Regions from separate parts of the Homo sapiens genome. Here region 1 is linked to region 2. Evidence: promoter capture Hi-C in human tissues and cell types (Jung and others, 2019). All regions are on one chromosome and are shown on one strand. The core of a region is centred on a gene start or on the middle of the fragment in contact, and the rest is flanking DNA. Distances in the headings are between cores, read along the strand shown. Region 1 has its middle 28 kb from the start of ULK1. Region 2 holds the start of SFSWAP (splicing factor SWAP).

Region 1 (3,032 bases), core at 40-2,539, 160 kb before region 2:
CCTTTGCCCTTCTCACACCGCTGCCCTCCTGGTGGATTGGGCCGTGGCACCAGCGTGCATCCAGCCTTCCCACCGCTGGCCTGTGGGTATCCTGCCCTTCCTGCAGGAGCCAGCCTGGCCTCAGCACCCCGTGGAGGGTGCAGGCGTCCCGGGCTGCAGCTCTGAGCTTGGCCTGTGGCTGCTTGGCCCTGCTGTGGCCCTGCTGTGGCCCTGCTGAGGGTCAGATGCCCGGGCCCTGGACCTGAATGGGAACCATTCTCAGCTGCACCCCAGTCCGCGCACATGGCCATGGGGCAGGGGACAGACCTGCATGGGGCTGAGTGGCTGCGGCTCCTGGAGACCCTGGAGGGAACCCCATGGGCTGCCTCGAGGATGGAGGATCTGATGCCACAAAGGGCTCAGAGCCAGGCCTGCAGCCTGGCCAGCAAGTGACTCAGCTGCGGCCCTGCCAGCCACAGGCCTGGGTGGGCTCATGTCCGTTCCCTGGTTCAGCACCCACGACGTAACTTCTAACCATCCTTCCATGCCCACCACACACCTCGGGCCAAGCTCAGTCATGTGAGCTCCCACCTCAGCCCTGCCAGGCTCATACTCCGCTGGAACCGCACAAGGCTGGCACTCTGTGACTTTAGGATTCAGCCGGATGTCCCCTCCTAAGGGGCTGTCCCTGATCACCTAAACCAAAGCCACGCCTCCCGGGCCCCTGTACTCCTCATCTTCCCCGGCCCACATGGCTTCAAGCTTCCATCACAGGACAACTGGCCCTGATGTTCACTCACAACGTGGAGGAAATAGGAAGCCACTGTAGCTCAAGAGGTTTACACAACTCACGTGGCCCTGGATGGGGTAATCGTTCAAACGAATCCATGTAAAGATATTTTGTGGGGACGGGACACATTTCAATATGGATGGGTCTCACACGACCTTACAAAATCATTGTGTGTGGGGATGGGACACATTTCAATATGGATGGGTCTGACACAACATTACAAAATCATTGTGTTTTTGGTGTTTTTTAGATAAGGGGTCTCACTATGTTGCCCAGGCTGGTCTTGAACCCTAGGCTCAAGCGATCCTATAGTCTCAGTCTCAGAAAGTGCTGGGATTCCAGGCATGACCCATGGTGCCTGGGCCGGAATTGTTAATTTTGTCAAATGTGATCGTGATATTGTTATGTAGGAAAATGTGCACCTTCTTAGAGAGAGAGAGAAAATATTTAGGAGAGACATGTCATGATATCTGTTTTTATTTCAAAATTGCTATAACAAGCACAAAAATAAATAAAGCAACATCCAAAGCCCTCACAATGCTGGAATCTAGGTGCGGTGCTTATAAAAGGCTGTTCATTCAACTACTTTCTTTTAAAAAAAATTTCTTTTGAGACAGGGTCTCACTCTGTTGCCCCAGGCTAAAGTGCAGTGGAGAAATCATAGCTCACTGCAGCCTCCAACTCCCAGACTCAAGCGATCCTCCTACCTCAGCCTCCCTAGTAGCTGGGACTACCAGTGCACACCACCATGCCCGGCTAATTTTTGAATTTTTTTCACAGACGGGATTTTGCCATGTTGCCCAGGGTGGTCTTACACTCCAGGGCTCCAGTGATCCACCTGCCTCAGCCTCCCAAAGTGCCGGAATTACAGTCCACTCCTTTTTTTTTTTTTTTTTTCTGAGACAGAGTCTTGCTCTGTTGCCCAGGCTGGAGTGCAGTGGCGTAATCTCAGCTCGCTGCAACCTCCACCTCCCAGGTTCAAGCAATTCTCCTGCCTCAGCCTCCTGAGTAGCTAAGATTACAAGCACCTGCCACCCTGCCTGGCTAATTTTTGTATTTTGGTAGATACGGGGTTTCGCCATGTTGGCCAAGCTGGTCTCGAACTCCTGACCTCAAGTGATCTACCCACCTCAGCCTCCCAAAGTGCTGAGATTACAGGTGTGAGCCACCGCGCCAGGCCCAGTCAACTACTTTCTTTTTTCTTTTTTCTTTTTTTTGAGACGGAGTCTCTCGCTCTGTCGCCCAGGCTGGAGTGCAATGGCTTGATCTTAGCTCACTGCAACCTCCACCTCCTGGGTTCAAGCGATTCTCCTGCCTCAGCCTGAGTAGTTGGGATTACAGGCGCCCACCACCACGCTTGGCTAATTTTTGTATTTTTTAGTAGAGATGGGGGTTTCACCACGTTGGCCAGGCTGGTCTCGAACTCCTGACCTCAGGTGATCTGCCCGCCTCGGCCTCCCAAAGTGCTGGGATTACAGGTGTGAGCCACTGCACCCAGCCAAGTCAACTCCTTTCTAAGCTTGAAAATTTTCGTGAAGAAGAAATACTGTATATGAGAAAAGAAAAAAGAACATACTGGGAATTCCTGTATGTTTACTTAAATAATCTTCTCAGACCTTTTTCTTTATTGCTATGTAATACATACATAATAATATACATAGCACATATAAACAGCATAATTAAATAAGGAACACCCTGTAAATCACCACCTCACCCAAAACTAAGAACATCTCCAATTTATTTTTTCTGTTTGTTCTGAGACAGGGTCTCGCTCTGTCGTGCAGGCCGGAGTGCAATGGCAGGATCTTGGCTCACTGCAGCTTCCACCTCCCTGGCTGAAGCAATTCTCCCATCTCAGCTTCCTGAGTAGCTGGGACTACAGCGTGCACCACTATGACTGGCTGTTTTATTTTTATTCTTACTTTTTGTAGAGATTGGGGGCGGGGGGGGTGGTCTCACTAAGTTGCCCAGGCTGGTCTCGAACTCCTGCCTCCAGCGATCCTCCCACCTCAGCTTCTTCAAGTGCTGGGGTTACAGGTGTGACCACCGCGCCCGGCCCAGTCATTTTCATTGTCATCTGTGGTCCTCCCATCCCATCCTCCCAACCTCCCCAACCAGGCTACTCATGCCTGAGTTTTGCGCTTATTATTCCTTTGTTTTTTGTTATTTCTACTGAAGTGTAACCGATTCTCAGTCAAGTGCACTAATATGAAGGGCACAGCCTGATTCATTTTTGCTCACATGCACACCTGTGTCACCACAG
Region 2 (3,022 bases), core at 271-2,770:
TGGTCATTAATGTGTCCATTCTGGCCAGCTCAGAGGTCATCCCTACAGTCATGCTCCAGGGCTATGAAGAATCCAGTTTTAATGGTCTCAAACGATGGGCTTTCTTCACGTGGAGAGACTATTCCACAGTTTAATGGTTGGTCATGGTTAGCTTTTCAGTCCGGGCCCCAGAAGTAGCCGAACAGGCAAAAAAGAAAAAAAACCACCCCACAACAACCCCAAAACCCAGAGACGAGGGGAAGGGGGATTGAAAAAATGGGAAGAAAGAGGGGAGCAAACCACCTACATCATGTAATGTTATCCTTTTCAAATCAAACGCCTTTAGAAATCCCTAATCCCAGGCCCCCACTGCCCATAATCGCTAGACACCCTCGAGTGACGACCTAAAGCAGGTTTGATTTGAAAAGAAACAACACATCTATATCCCAGCTCCACCCTTCAGTCTTAAGAGACAGTGAAACCAGCCCTAAGAACACTATCTCTTCCAAGAGCAAGGCCAGGGTCCGCACGAAGTCAAGTGGCCACCAACTGACGGGCAACTTTGCTCACTACCTCAATCTGTCAAACTCGTCGGATTATCACCGGGAAATCAAACGTCATGCCGGCAAAGTACGGGCGCTCCACTGAGGGCTCTGGGGGCATAACAGGTTAAGGCTAACTCACAGGTCCAAGAGACACTTCTAGCCACTGTCTCAGTGAGCGGCGGTTCGGAAGAATAAAGGCACGCCTCCCAGGGTACCCTCCCAGTACACCGAGCAGTGAGAGCGCGGCAAGTAGAAAAGCAGCGCACGACCCCATGGCATCGCCGGGCGGCAGGCCCAGGTGCACTCAGGAAAAGACCCTGGGCACTGGCTGCTTTCACCGCGCGGAATCGCCAACTGCAGCCCAGCGACAGGGTGAGGGGTCGAGAGGGGCTGCGGGACCAGAGACGATCCCTCCGGAGACGGACGCGGCACGCAATTCCAGCCAGTGCCTTAGGGCAGGTTTCACCGTCCCCCTCCCCACCAGAACACCAGGAGGAGGTGGGGACAGGGGAGGGGGTGTCCCCCAGATCCCCGCTGGCTCCAGAAAACTCTCTGCAGTCCTTGCAGTCAAGTCAACATCAGACGAGATCAAGCGGGTGAGGGAAGGGAAGGATCGACGGGTGGGGAGAGGAACCGACCTGTCGATGAGGATCTTGTGGTCCCCCATCCAGGGGATGAGGTGCTGTCCCTGTTCCTGAGCCAGGGCCCGCTCGTCGTCCCGGAACAGCTTGCAGGCATAGCCGAAAACCAAGAGCTCCACTCGGCTGCCCCCACCGCCGGCACCGCCTGGCCCGGCCTCCTCCTTCGCGCCGCTTTTCCTCTCGGGTTTGGCGCGGCCCCCGCTCGCGCCGTACATGACAGCGTCCCCGGCGTCCAGGCTGGTCCTCTTCTGTGCCGCGCGACGTCCCTGATACCTCCACTTGGCCTACCCCTTCAGTCAAAGACCCCGCATCCCGTACCCAACCTCAACACCGCCGCCATAGCGGGCCACAAAATGGTGGAGGGGCAGCTTCCGGCAGGAGAGCCCGCATTTCCGGCGAGCGGACCGGCAGATTCGCCTAGGCTTGGAGCTCTTTTAGCCGCTAGGAAATATTTTGGCTTTAATTTTCGCATTCAGGTGTGCCGCCACAATAGGCGCTGCTGTATTCAGTGGAAAGTGCAATTTTAATGTCCGTTTTATCGGGCAGCCGTCAGGACGTGGCGAAAGCGCAGCGTGGGATCGCGCGCCGGCTTCCGCTGCGGCCAGTCGGGCGGCGACGGAGTCGGAGGGAGGGGCCCGGCGCGCTCTGGGCCTTGGGCGAGTCCTCGTGGGTGGCGGGTTGCTGCAGCCTGCCACATGTGTGGAGGCCTCGGGTCCACCCCGAGCCTCCGCGCCCCTCACCATGTCCGAGTCGCTGGGGCCGTGCGTGCTCTGCCCAGGGTGGCGATGTCCTTTTCCTTGGCCCCGTTTCCTTCTCCATCCCTAGGGGGACTTGGTCCCCGACCCGCCCACCTTTGAAGGTTTCCGAGGCAGCAGAGGCCCCTGCGCTGCAAATCACTCGCGGGTGGCGAGATTTCGGAAACCTGAGACCCTTGTCGCCGGGAGATGGTCTGGCGGGGCAGGGAGACCCCAGTCTGGAGACTGGCCACCTGGATACGGTGCAATTTTGCTTGGTGTGTTTCCTCCTGGGCCGCAGTTTTCCCATCGGTGGTTCCATTAGGATCTTTCGGTCCCTTTTAGCTCAGTAATTTCAGGTCAGACAAAGGGCCTGGAGTGCAAAATCTTAGGCTTTGGGATGGGATGGGATATCCCCATGTTTGCCCTTGAGTGGAAAACGATGACAGATCGTCTCCTTTCTGGGCCTCAGATCCCCTCTCCATAAAAATGGAATCTTTCTACCAGTGATGTTGAAATGAGATAATGTATATGAACCTTTAACTGATTTTTGGAAATTAAGAAACAGGCAGTTCCCACCAAACGTCTTTTGTTGTGGTTTCCCCTGACTGGGTCATGCTTCTGTCTTCATTTGCCAGGCTCCTTACCCAAGTTTAACTCAGTCATCCATTTCTCCACCTGGCCTTATGTGTCTACGTTGTCTGGAGTTTCCCCTCACTGGTGGCTAACTTGTGCCTTCCGATTTGTCTGTGTACCTCTCATCACCACCTTAGGTTACATCCTGTGTTCAGCATCCCACCAGAATTAGCTTTAAGAGATCAGGGACATTGTTGGGGTCACCTTAGCATCCTCAGCACCTAGAATGGTGCTTAGCACACTGTGGGCCAAATACTGGTTAATACCTGTAGAATGAGCCGGGCCAGCAGCTGAGCATGCGTGGCCAGGCCATCATCTTCCTATCTAACTCTACAAGACTGCTCTGCCACTGCTGAGGAAGATGTATGTGTCATGGTTACTTGATAAAAACACTGTTGTTTGCCCCCAGGCATTTACTAGTTTGTTTCGGTGCTGGGCTCCCTTCAAGCTTTCCCTTGGGTTCAGGTGTGGGGTGCTAAAGCAAATA

The links. The method cuts DNA at HindIII sites, captures the fragments that hold promoters and counts their contacts. A contact is called where the count stands out against the background at its distance.
Region 1: a fragment that was not itself captured here is called in contact with the fragment with the promoter of SFSWAP in region 2 in 4 of the 25 tissues and cell types used here (H1 embryonic stem cells, adrenal gland, liver and 1 more).

The regions. Positions count from the first base shown.
Region 1 is chr12:131,865,471-131,868,502 of GRCh38, reverse strand. No RefSeq gene overlaps it. Among named protein-coding and RNA genes, the nearest start is that of ULK1, 28 kb to the left of the region's middle. RefSeq lists an enhancer at 83-679. The HindIII fragment of the contact is 5,868 bases long and covers 1-3,032 here.
Region 2 is chr12:131,709,588-131,712,609 of GRCh38, reverse strand. SFSWAP (splicing factor SWAP) reads right to left here and starts at 1,520. Exons shown (of 18, transcript NM_004592.4): 1 at 1,163-1,520. The coding sequence starts at 1,380. RefSeq lists enhancers at 1,286-1,355, 1,446-1,735, 1,876-1,965. The HindIII fragment of the contact is 15,511 bases long and covers 1-3,022 here.